Linked DNA regions of Homo sapiens: all the other regions are linked to region 4. The links are contacts of gene promoters, found by promoter capture Hi-C in blood cells and fetal thymus (Javierre and others, 2016). All regions are on one chromosome and are shown on one strand. The core of a region is centred on a gene start or on the middle of the fragment in contact, and the rest is flanking DNA. Distances in the headings are between cores, read along the strand shown.

Evidence for each region. The method cuts DNA at HindIII sites, captures the fragments that hold promoters and counts their contacts. A CHiCAGO score of 5 or more calls a contact.
Region 1: a contact is called between a fragment that was not itself captured here and the fragment with the promoter of SIGLEC8 in region 4, in 7 of 17 cell types (erythroblasts, monocytes, total B cells and 4 more). The highest score is 8.4, in erythroblasts.
Region 2: a fragment that was not itself captured here is called in contact with the fragment with the promoter of SIGLEC8 in region 4 in 1 of 17 cell types (erythroblasts); the score reaches 5.3 in erythroblasts.
Region 3: a contact is called between a fragment that was not itself captured here and the fragment with the promoter of SIGLEC8 in region 4, in 6 of 17 cell types (fetal thymus, neutrophils, erythroblasts and 3 more). The highest score is 6.0, in fetal thymus.

Annotation. Positions count from the first base shown.
Region 1 is chr19:51,681,742-51,684,687 of GRCh38, forward strand. It overlaps a transcript of SPACA6 not described here. Among named protein-coding and RNA genes, the nearest start is that of MIR99B, 9.4 kb to the right of the region's middle. The HindIII fragment of the contact is 3,112 bases long and covers 1-2,946 here.
Region 2 is chr19:51,596,362-51,599,334 of GRCh38, forward strand. It overlaps the pseudogene LOC339352. Among named protein-coding and RNA genes, the nearest start is that of LINC01530, 3.5 kb to the left of the region's middle. The HindIII fragment of the contact is 468 bases long and covers 1,026-1,493 here.
Region 3 is chr19:51,327,986-51,331,157 of GRCh38, forward strand. IGLON5 (IgLON family member 5) reads left to right here. Exons shown (of 8, transcript NM_001101372.3): 8 at 686-2,906. The coding sequence ends at 774. Among named protein-coding and RNA genes, the nearest start is that of VSIG10L-AS1, 10 kb to the right of the region's middle. RefSeq lists an enhancer at 273-1,195. The HindIII fragment of the contact is 3,886 bases long and covers 1-3,172 here.
Region 4 is chr19:51,456,871-51,460,198 of GRCh38, forward strand. It overlaps SIGLEC8 (sialic acid binding Ig like lectin 8), which reads right to left and starts at 1,584. Exons shown (of 7, transcript NM_014442.3): 1 at 1,064-1,584; 2 at 591-869; 3 at 314-361. The coding sequence starts at 1,517. The HindIII fragment of the contact is 20,005 bases long and covers 1-3,325 here.

The DNA.
Region 1 (2,946 bases), core at 283-2,782, 220 kb after region 4:
AACTGATCATATCCGTGCCCAAATAAGGCAAATGTCTTGCTGTAGCCAACCAGATGATTTCTCTACTTTGCTTCTGTGTTCAGCTTATACAAGCTCACTGCTCTTCTGATTCTGAGTGTTGCCCTACTCATGAATTGTTCTCTACTCAAATAAACTGTGTTCAATTTAATTTGTCTGAAGTTCTTCTTTTAATAGGTCAGTGAATGGTATAAAGGCCCAGTCCCCTTTCCCCGATTCAGGACATCTCTGTGGAGCCATCTAGCTGTAGAGTTTCCTGTAGGATTGGCTGGGGCTTCTGTTATGACTGCATAGTAGTTCACCTTCTCCCACTGCCTAATCCTACTTCCTTCGCTCCCCTACGAGTGTGAATCCTGAGAGCAGGAAATTAATAGGGGTGTTCTCAGGATTCACACTTGTAGGGGAGTTCTAACCTCTGCTTCAGAGTCAGTTTCCTGAAGAATCATCTGTAACTTATAGGTTTTCACAATCACCATTATTTATTTCAGCCTCTTACTCCTGTAATTGTATAATTACACACACATTTATACTTTGATAAAAATTTAACTTTGAACACACACACGATGTTCACTCCAAGCTACATTAGAATGCTTAAATTTGAAGGTGACTATTAAGATTTTAAAGTTAGGAACATGATTTGTTCATATTTCTAATGTTATTGTGCTAGTTAGATAGGCTGGTAACCCAATCTGTCATGTATTCATCGTGACCACACAAGTTCAGGGATGCCAGAAATGAACTTCAAATTGGCACTCAGTGGTTCCACCTCCAAAAGACTGAGGTGAGATCAAAGTCAAATAGAAAAAAATGAACAAATATTGAGGCTGAAGCTGAATTTTAATGCAACCCAACTATGTGCATGTTTGTGTGTGTATGTATGTTTACTTAAACATGAAGTAAAGAATGACAAGACACACAGATAAACATGGATACTATATTGGTTTTCTAGGGCTGTTGTAATAAAGTATTATAAACTGAGCAGCTTAAAACAACAGAAATTATCCGGGCACAGTGTATCATGCCTGTAATCCCAGTACTTTGGGAGACTGAGGGCGGGCAGATCACTTGAGGTCAGGCGTTTGAGACCAGCCTAGCCAACATGGTAAGATCCTGTCTCTACTAAAAATACGAAAATTAGCCAGGCATGGTGGCAGGTGACTGTAGTCCCAGCTACTTGGGAGGCTGAGGCAGGAGACTCACTTGAGCCCAGGAGGTGGAGACTGCAGTGAGCCAAGATCATGCCACTGCACTCCAGCCTGGGTGGCAGAGGGAGACTCCACCTCAAAACAAACAAGCAAAAACAGAAATGTATTCTCTCGCAGATGTGGAGGCTAGAAGTTAGAAATGAAGGTATCAGCAGGACCAGCTTCCTCTGTAGGCCCCTTGGTTTCTTGTTCTAGCTTCTGGTGGTTGCCAGTCATCCTTGGTGTTTCTTGGCTTGTAGATGCATCACTTGAATCTCTCTGCCTCCATCATCACATGGCCTTCTTCCCAAGTATTTTATCTGCATCTTCAAATATCTCTCTCCTTATCAGATTACCAGTCATTGGATTTAGGGCCCACTCTAATCCAGTATGCCTTCATTTTAACTTGATTACATCTGTAAAGGCTCTCAAAGAAGGTCACATTCACAGGTACAGGGGATTCAAACTTTAACATATATATTTGGTGGGGTGGGGACACAATTTAACTCACAACAGGTATGACAGATAACTTTGGGAGGAGAAGCACCTGGTGAATGGGTAGGAAGGGAGGGGTCAATCAAGGTAACCAAAGAAAAAAATAAATGAGGATGGGAAAGAATACAGTAAAAATACCTTCATAAGAATAAATTGCCCTGTTAATATAAAATTCTGTGCATGTGTATGAATAAATTAGAATAAAGAGCTAGCTCTGTATTAATTTGTAGGCATAACATTCGATAATTCTTTTATATGGTTTATTGTGTGCCAGGCACTGTTTTAAGCACTTTCCATACATTAACTCCTTTAATCCTTATGTCTCAACCCATGATATAGGTACTATTATTATTACACCCATTTTACTGATGATGAAACTGAGACATAGAGAGACATAGCTAGTAAAATGGCTGAGCCAGGATTCAAACCTGAGCCATCGGGCTTCAGAATCTGTGCTCTTAATCACCTTGGCATATGTAGTATGACTCTGTTCTTCAGAAACTAAAACAATATATATGTGTACAAATGCATATGTATACATTTATATTTTAGAAGACATAAAATTAAAGTATCAAGATCAAAAATAAAATCTTGGATTCTAACCAGCTCTGTCAGGGCTCACAGACAATGAATGATAAATATTCTGGTTGGCCTATTTTGTGTCATATACCCAGATGCCCAGACTAGGTTTTTTTGGGGGGAGAAGGAGGGGCATCAGTGCTTGGACATTCTTGTCAGAGTCATGTGGAGTGGGTTACTTAAAGGAAAGAGATGATCTATTATCAGAGGTAGGAGGAGATGGCAGCTGACGGACTTGCAAAAACTATAACTAGTCTGTCTCCTTGAACCTCAGTGTAACCTTCCCTACCTTTTTCTTAGATGTAAACAGCAGAGCAGCTGAAGGTCCTTCACTCATCAAACAAAAAGAAGGTATGGCCCAAGGTGAAGAGAAAGGCTATAGGGAAACCCTCCCCAAAACATCACACCCATTTTCCCATGCCCTTTGTTCAGAAAATAATTAATTGTGGAAATGAGATCTGTTGCCTCCCCACTTCCCCCAGCCCAGACCCGACAACAATGGGGACCCTGTCTCTACTTCCTACAAGTCCACCAGGGGCAAATTACCATTTGGGGTTATTTAATGGTGTAATAGGAGAATCTGCTGCTTTTAGTTCAGGGGTGTCCAATCTTTCAGCTTCCCTGGGCCAAACTGGAAGAATTGTCTTGGGCTGCACATAAAATACATTAA
Region 2 (2,973 bases), core at 10-2,509, 140 kb after region 4:
AAACAGAATGAGAAGAGGGGTGATGGGCAGGATATGAGGACTGTGAAGAGGCCTCCCCAGAAGATATTAAGCAGGAGGCAAAAAACAAGAACAAAGAGGGAGGACTAAATCAAAAGCTGTGGGAGAAAGTATTTCAAAGGGGACTTTGCTCCGCTGTGACAGATGTACCTGACATCACCGCAGTTGAGTCCTGAGGGCTGCTTGATGGCTCAGTGACAGGGAAGAGTGCTTTGGGCAAAGAGAAGAGCCAGTGAAAACAACTAGAGACAAGAGTGTTCCTGGGGGTACTCAAGAGTAGACACCAGTAAGCAAGAAGGAGAGTGGAAGGAGATGAGGACAGAGAAACAAGGAGCCAGAGCCTGTAGGGCCTCGTCGGCCATTAGCAGTTACATTTTGTTTTTTGTTTTTTTGAGACAGAGTCTCGCTCTGTCACCCAGGCTGGAGTGCAATGGCACGATCTCGGCTCACTGCAACCTCCGCCTCCCAGGTTCAAGCAATTCTCTGCCTCAGCCTCCCAAGTAGCTGGGATTACAGGTGCCCACCACCATGCCCAGCTAATTTTTTTGTATTTTTAGTAGAGACAGGGTTTCACCATCTTGGCCAGACTGGTCTTGAACTCCTGACCTTGTGATCCACCCGCTTCGGCTTCCCAAAGTCCTGGGATTACAGGCGTGAGCCACTGTGCCCAGCCAGTAGTTACTAAAGTGAGATGAGATGCAGGGCAGGATCCCACTGGCTGTTATATGAAGGAGTGTGTGTGGAGGAGGCAAGGCAGGGAGCATGGAGACCTGTGAGGAGCCCCCTGCAGCCATCTAGGAGAGAGGCAGACCTGACTAGGGTGCTGCCATGGAGATGGTCAGAAGTGTTTGGCTGTTTTGAAGCTATAGTCAAACAATATGTGTGACTTTTCATTTGAGCACCTGGAGTTTGAAAGGGTCCGGACTTAGCATTGCAATTTGGCTCCACCCACTGGGAGAGTGACAACTGTAGTGATAGAAAGAGCAGTCCAGGGTCCTGGACCCCAAAGCTTCTGGCCTGAGCAGCTGGAAGGGATGGAGCTGCCCTGTACTCCAGGAGAAGCCCGTTAGGTTAGAGGAATCAGGAATTTGGGTTTTGAGATGCTTATTAGACATCTGAGTGGCACTGGTCTTTACTTGCATGTAAGTTAGAGACGGTAAATACACAGTCATATGAAATAATTCCACACATTGTGGTAAATCCTAGAAGCAGCGTGACCTGCTCTGAATGGCAAGGATGTGACGGCAGTAGTGCAGGCTGGAGGTGGTGGTGGCTTGAGGAGGGGGACTAAGCCTGGGGAGTTTTTATGGGTTCACCAGACAAGTGGGACGAAGGAGGTTCGATGGGACAGTTAGAGTCTTGGCTGGGTGGGGAGGGATGAGGTAGGAAAGAGAACAGTTGGGGGCCAAGGATGAGCCAACCCCATCACTGACCCCTCCCCTCCCAACCTCTCTGTGTCTTTCGGGGGCCACAGAAGCTTAGGTGGATTCTGATACCAGAGCGGGGTTAAGTTCAGAACTGGAGGCCTACACACCCTCACCTCAAAAATAGGTGCAACCCCTGCTAGTCTCCCTAGAGGTTGATCTAGCCTGCCTGTGTATGTCCTTGTAAGACACAATCAGGACCCATTCCTGGAGACAGAATGCCCACCCCGACCCCTGAAAGTGAAATCCAATTGGTCTTTTCTGTATAGCCCCCTTCCCTTGAACAGAGCATGACCTCCCTCTGTCCTTAAGAGTCTCTGACCCCTCCCCTCCCAATCTCTCTGAATAGTCAGTAATATCTACCTTCTGATCAGGGCTGTAACATGGGTGGCCTCCTGGAAGTTGTTACAACTGGTCCTTAATAGACGCCCTCACCCCTTTGGACAGGACACGATCTAATTCTGGGTATAACCTGCTTGTTGCTCCCTCTTTTTCCCCCTGAAATCAGCTTAAGTTCCTTCTCTTCTTGGTGCATAATGGGTGCAGTCCAGGAAGCCTTCCTGGAGGCAGTGGCCTTCTTACACCAGAACCCATTTATAACCCACGTATATAAGAGCAGCAGCCACAGCTGCCCCTGGTCTATTCCAGGCAGGGGCACTATCTAGGGAACTCCTCAAAGGCAATGAAACATGTGTAACCCGCCTCCTCTCCCGGTCTAGGAGAAGCTGTCCCTTCTTGCAATGCCCGCCCCGTCATGTGCCTCCTGCCACGTGGCATGCGCCTCCCTCCGCCGTCCATGCTCGGGCCAAGTGCTGTGCGGTTCCTGCTTCTGCACCGCCTTCGAGGCGGAGGTGCAGCACATGGTGCTTGTGGGCTACCTGCTGCCGCCAGGCGCAGTGGTGGCCCTGGGCACCTCGGGCGGCAAGGATTCCACGGTGCTGGCACACGTGCTGCGCACGCTGGCACCGGGCCTGGGCATCTTACTGCAGCTCATGGCTGTAGACAAGGGCATCGGGCGTGGCTTAGCGGGAGGATCCCAGTAAGGAGCTGGGGAAATACGCATGTGCCTATTTAGGGCCGGAGCCTACTGAAGGCTCATGTGGGTAGTACGTGTGGCTCCCTACGATGGAGTAAGGCAGGTTTTTCAAGCCTCTGGGTCTCTGACATCATCTTAGTGAGAGATGAAGCTGGCTGGGCTTCTGGGTCAGGTGGGCACTTGGAGAACTTTTCCGTCCAGCTAAAAGATTGTAAACACACCAATCAGTGCTCTGTGTCTAGCTAAAGGTTTGTAAACGCACCAATCAGCACTCTATAAAACCAGACCAATCAGCACTCTGTAAAACCAGACCAATAAGCACTCTGTAAAATGGACCAATCAGCGCTCTGTAAAATGAACCAATCAGTGCTCTGTAAAATGGACCAATCAGCAGAATGTGGGTGGGGCCAAATAAGGGAATAAAAGCTAGCCACCGAGCCTGCAGCGGCAACTCATTTGGGTCCCCTCCCACGCTGTGGGAGATTTGTGCTTTTG
Region 3 (3,172 bases), core at 76-2,575, 130 kb before region 4:
CTTAGGAGATGGACGCTGAGACTGAAAAGCAATGCGAGTAAGAAACCGATCCACGCAATCAATATTCATTGAGTGCCAGCTAAGGGTTTGTCGTGGGGGACGCAGCTGTGCACAAAAGAAACAAGGTTTGGGGATTCGCAGAGCTTATAGTCTAGTAGGAGTAGAAAAGCAATAAACAAGTGGTCATGTAGGTAAATAAGCAAACACATACATAAACAAAAAATAATTTTGGAGGCCGGGCGTGGTGGCTCACGCCTGTAAATCCCAGCACTTTGGGAGGCCGAGGCGGGCTGATCACCTGAAGTCAGGAATTTGACACCAGCCTGTCCAACATGGTGAAACTATGTCTCTACCAAAAAAAAAAAAAAATACAAAAATTAGCCAGGCGTAGTGATGGGCACCTGTGGTCCTAGCTATTCAGGATGCTGAGGCAAGAGGATTGCTTGAACCTGGGAGGCAGAGGTTACAGTGAGCCGAGATTGCGCCTGGGTGACAGAGCGAGACTCCGTCTCAAAAAAAGAAAAAAAAAAAAAAAAAGAAACAGAGTCAGAAAAGCAGGCACACCCAATGAGAGATCCAGAAAGGACGCTAAAGAGTGGGCTCAGAAGAGATGGGGCCCCTGGAGAGACACACATGGGGTTCCCCACTCTCAGGCCTCCCTCCATGACCCCTTCTCTTCCCCCAGGCCCAGGATCCCTGGAGAACTCAGCCCCGAGGCCCCCAGGGCTCCTGGCCCTCCTCTCCGCCCTGGGCTGGCTGTGGTGGAGAATGTAGGCGCAACCCAGTGGAGCTCACCTCCCCCTGCAGGGGGCCTCAGGCCAAGAGTGAGAGAAACGGGGGAGCAAGAGCCGTGGGTCTCGTGGGGGCAGAAGAGCTCTCGGCCACCAAGGAAGAAGAGAGAGGAGAAGAGGAGGAGGCAGAGGAAGAAAGATCTTCAGAGAACCCATCACTGTGAGGGATAACGCAAAATTATGCATCTTTCTACAGCCATTCTCGCCACCCGTTCACGTTTCCGATTGTGACCCACTCCCGCCACCCCATACCCCTCTCTCTTAGCTCAGGCTGTCAACTGGCTTGTGTGGGTGTGGGTGTGTGAGTGTGAGCCTGCATGCATGTGTAGGTGTCTGTGTCTCTGTTTGTGTGTGTGTGGGGGGGTGGGCTGGGGGAAGGGACTCAGCCGTCCTCCCGCCCCCAAAACCCCCATGTCCACTGTCCCCAACCCTATTGCCTCTCACCTCTGGCTGGAGGTAGGTATGAGGCTCTGCAGTGGAAGCTGTGAAGAGAGGCTTACCAGGCTCCCTGCTTCCCCAATATATGCACGCACACTACCCCTCCCCCTGTCGAAAGGGCAACTCCTGGCAGGTTGGGAGTGGGGAGGGGCATCGCACTCACCTGTCAAGCTGTCATTCAGCCTTTGTGAGTAAGTGGGGGACCTCCATCTAGGCTCTGGGCTTCCCTGCTGTCAACCACCAGCTTCCTGTAGCCAGAGGCCCCATCGCTGGCTCAGTGGCCTGAGACCTTCCCACTTTTCCTGTCCCTCCACACCCTGGATTTTCTGGCCCCCTCCTGGGCCAATCGGTGCTTCCATCCAACTGTCAGACTGGTGGCAGGAGTCACCTGTCTGTTTCAGTGCTTTGCCCTACCCTTGCCACCACTCCCCTTGGCCTTGATTTCCCCACCTGCGGCACCAGCCAGCTGCCCTTGGGGCCTTTGCAGCTGGCCCACAGGTGTGAGCTTGCTGGTCTATCACTTCCTGGCCTCTCCACCAACTGTACCTCCCAAAGGCTACCTGACCGCCCTCACAGACACTCAGACGCACCACACACACATACACACACACAGACACACACACACACACACACACACACACCAGCGACTGTGACCAGCAATAGCCCCCTGGCTCCAGCTGTCCGGTAGCTGGTGACTAGCTGTATTTCCCCCTGGGTAGGCATCTGGTGTCAGGAAGGGACGCTGAGAGGCCGCAGCCTCAGCTCTGACTGTAGGAACACTCCACCCTGGTACACCACACCACACAAAGTGGGGGACAGAGAGGCATCACACAGACATCCTGAGCCCAGACAAAGATGCCATGTCACCAACTCCGACTCCCAGGAGACCCTCTATATAAACACCCACCCCAAACCACACCACCCAGAGTCTGGTGGAGAAAAGGAGAGGGCAAGGCGCAGTGACTGTACCTCAGACGGGGGCATGGGCCCCATCCCACATTGTCTTCCATTCCCAGGGTCCAGGGGATGGGGTGGGACAGGGGAGGGATGCTAGGGAGGGGGTGGGGGGCCCTGGGGGCCATGTGTTCCAATTCATGGGGAGTGTTGAGACCACCACACCAATAAACGCCTTTTTCCAAAGTCTGCCTGCAGGTGTCAATGTCATTAAGGATTAGAGTTAATGAAGGGCAAAGGGTAGCAGTCAATTGGTGGTGCCTCTCCAGCATCATTCCTACCGCCTACTTTCTCACTGGTAGACTTGGAATGGACTCATTACAGAGATGCCCTGTGATTGGCCGAAGACACCCAGCATAGCCCATTTCCCACCGTGATTGGCTCAGAGATGGGCACATGACCCAGTAAGGCTAATGAGAAAGTGAATGGATTCCCAAGAAGAGATGCTTTTCTGCTGGATATTGTGGCTCCGTGATGTGAAGTCAACATCTGTAGGGTTGCTTTTCTCCATCACATGGAGAGATCTTGGCTCTGTGGGGATAGCAATGGTGGGGAGGACAGCATATGGAGCCTGAGAAGGATAGGAACACTGTGAAGGGCAGAGTGGAAACCTTAGAGAAACTGAGTCCATGATTATATATCATTTGAGCAGCTGGATCAAAACTTAACTGATGCCCATTTTCACTTATATAAGCAATAAAGTCCCCTGTATATTTAAACCAATTTGCATTGGATTTTCTATCTCTAGTAATAAAAAAGAGAATGAAAACCATAATAGATACAGAAGAGACATAGAAGGCCCAGAACCCCAACCCTCACCTTTCCAAAAGGATCCAGGGGTTCTATTTTCCAATGGCCTTTTCTACCCCCAATCATTAACCAGAAATTCTCTCACATGCTTTCCTTCCCTGAGACAGATGCTGGTTGCCCACATTTGAGTTGTTTGGTTCCCCTTTCTTCTTCGCTGGCAGATCCACGTGTTATGATAC
Region 4 (3,328 bases), core at 334-2,833:
GAAAGTCTGGTCCCAAAATAAAAACGAACAAAAACCAAAAAAATTGGGAGTCTGATCCAGCTGTGTGAATGTCACCCTGTCCTTGCTGTGGGGCCAAGGAAGGGGTGTGTGGAGGAGTCTAAGGGGAGCAGGGACAGGATGGGGACAGGGGCTCAGATGGTCACGCGGGCTGGAGATGTGGGCTCTTGTGCCCTGGGCTCACGCACAGTGGCAGCTCTGTTTCCCAAAGTGATTCCAGGATGAGGAGAGACCCAGCCCCATCCTGAGCTGAAGGCCCTGCTCCCCCAACCCCAGGGAGGGGGCTCTGTCCTACCTGTGGCATCTCCTTGGAAGACAGTCATGGTCAAGTTCCAAGGAGGGTCTGGGACAGAAAGACATGAAGACCCACATTACTATAAGGACTGGGGACATTGGCCCTGTCTTCCCAGGAGCTGCAAATACAGGGAAAATGGAGTCGGCATTCTCCTGACCCCACTCCCAGCCCAGATTCTGGGACCCAGAACCCAGTGTCCAGGCTTGAACCCCATCCCCTGCCCTCAGGAACACCTCCCAACCCATGAGGGACCTGGGCATCTTGGTCCAGCACTCACAGGACACATCGAGGCGGACGGTACTGGTCGTGGTCACACCTGTCCCAGGCAAGGTCACCTGACAGGTGAGGCTGGTGCCGTGGTCCTGGGGCTTTGGGGTAAGGGTGAGCACTGAGGAGCGGGCAGTAGTGGGGCCCGGGGAGGACACGGAGGCCCCAATCCAGGAGATCATGGGGGGTGTCCCCTGCTTACAGGCCCAGGGCACAGAGCAGGTCAGGTTCCTGGAGTGGCCAGACTCTAGGGTCCCTAGGATGAGGATGTCAGGCCTATGGGTCAGGGCTGGTGAAGATGGGGACACAGGATCAGGAGGAGGTATTTCAGGTGCAGCCCTGGAGGAAGCTCAAGCTCTGGTCCAGCTCCTCCCCGGAGACCGACTTATTTCAATCCCAACCCCCTCCCAGGCCCCATCCCAGCCCTGCCTTTCAGCCCCTCATGACCTTCCCCTGTGGCCTGTGCTGGAGCCCGTGCCTTACCTGTCACAAACACAGACAGCTGCTTAGTTTTGTAATTCAACTGTGATTTGTAACTCCATTTCATGCTTCCTCTCTCTAGCCGAAAGAAATATGACCCCTTATCCCTCTTCCTGGCGTCTCTGATGCTCAGGGAGCAGTCGTTGCTCCAAATGTCCCCAAGGAGTTGGAATCGGCCCTGGGTCTCTGCCTGCACTTCTCTGTCTGGGTTGTTTGTGGCCACTGGAGCGTCTTGGTATGGTCTGTCTCCTGCCCGGAACCAGTAGCCATGAACTGGGTCAGAGTCAGTCCAGCCATCCTGGGGGTAGGAGAAGGAGCAGGGCACATGGACACACAGGCCCTCCTGCACCGTCACCAGCTCCTGCACTTGCAGCAAGTAACCATCCCCATATTGTCTGTCTCCCTCCATCCCCTTTGTCCCCCAGAGCAGGGGCAGCAGCAGCAGCAGCAGCAGCATGTCTGGGTTTGAAGGCGCCAGGGCCGCCAGGGAACGTCTGTTCCTCAGGGTTCTTCTCTCAGAAACTGAGGTCTCAAGACTTAGGGGAGGTCCCGCAGGAGGTTGGGGGTGAAGTCAGAAAAGTGACCTCCTCAGAGGAGGAACTTCACACACAGACACTGTCAGGGCCGGGTCAGTCCTGGGAGATCCACTGTCCACCACCCCATTTCCACTCCTGGGAACCCTGAGGCCAGAGAGGGTGAGAAACTCATCCAGATTCCCACCCTATGCAGGGCCCAACCTCTTTCTTGCTTCCCGGACTTGCCCTTCCATTTGGGTAACATTTTCTGCAAGGTGAAATTGGGTCCCATCTGGCCAGACCCCTGAATCACCCCCGGGGCTGTCACTGTTTGTGGAGGTCATACCAGCCAAAGGTGGAACTCAGGGCCATGAGAGACTGGGGTGCAGGTGAGGTGAGCAGGCAGCCTCTCCTCCCTCTCTCAGCAGCAACGAAGTGGGCACCTCCTCTTTACACAACGAGGTCAACAGAGCAGAGCCAGACACTGTCCTCAAGGAGTCACTGTGCAGAGGGGAGACACGGAGGCTCCTGACGTCTGAGCTCCCCAGGACGGGAGCTTCAGTGGGGGGCACAGGCAAGGTGGGGTCGTTCTCCCCTAGGTCAGGGGTTCAGTCTCAGGAGGCCTGAGCAGAGGGACACGGGGCTGTGGAGGTGAGGATTCTGCATGTTGATACACACGAAGGACGGGGGGCGGGGGGAAGCCTGGCTCGCAGGAGGCCTGGGAAACTGAGGCTGTAACTGTTGTACTGTGGGGTTTGGAAGGGAGAAATGTCAGAAGGGAAAGGGTCAATTTGAAAAGGGCACACACTTCTCCCTTTGTTGCAGCTATCTGGGTATCAGAATGGGTTTCTTCACCACCCGTATCTTACTCAGCCACACTTCCCCTGGTTACTGCACAGCAGGCGGGGTCTGTCAGCCCTGGGGCTTTGCTCCTGCAGGCTCTGCTTCCAGGGGTCCAGGTGAACAGGTGTCATGGAACGAGGACACCAGCCCTGGGGTGTGCACCTTCAGCGATGGGCAGGATTTCTTGAGAGAAGAAATGTGCACCTGAATTCAACAGATGATGATGATGATGATGATGATGATGATGATTATTATTATTATTATTATTATTATTATTTGAGACGGAGTCTCTCTCTGTCGCCAGGCTGGAGTGCAGTGGCGCGATCCCGGCTCACTGCAACCTCTGACTCCCTGGTTCAAGCGATTCTCCTGCCTCAGCCTCCCAAGTAGCTAGGATTACAGGCATACGCCACCACATCCAGCTAATTTTTGTATTTTTAGTAGAGCCGGGGTTTCACCATGTCGACCAGGATGGTCTGGATCTCCTGACCTCATGATCCACCCACCTCAGCCTCCCAAAGTGCTGGGATTACAGGTGTGAGCCACCGTGCCTGGCCTCAACAGATTATTTTAAACTGTGTGGCTGGGGGCTGGGAAGAAGTTAAGGGGGATCCTGGGAGGCGGAGCCTCCTTAGACTCAGGTCAATTTTCTTGAAACATTTTTTGGGGGGTAAATATAAGAAATATAGATAAAAACAACCCCCAAAGAAGACCTCAGTGATTTACATACAACGAGCCCCCTCCTAGAAATGGCACATTGACAAAGTCCCCAGCGCTGCTCATTTGTTTCTCCTTCTTATTGGCCACACCCCACTCCCTCCCAAACGATCCCCTAGCCTCACTTTGGTGCAAATTGCCTCAATGCTTTTCTATATAGTTTTATTATCTGAGCAGGCTGCATTTACTAAGC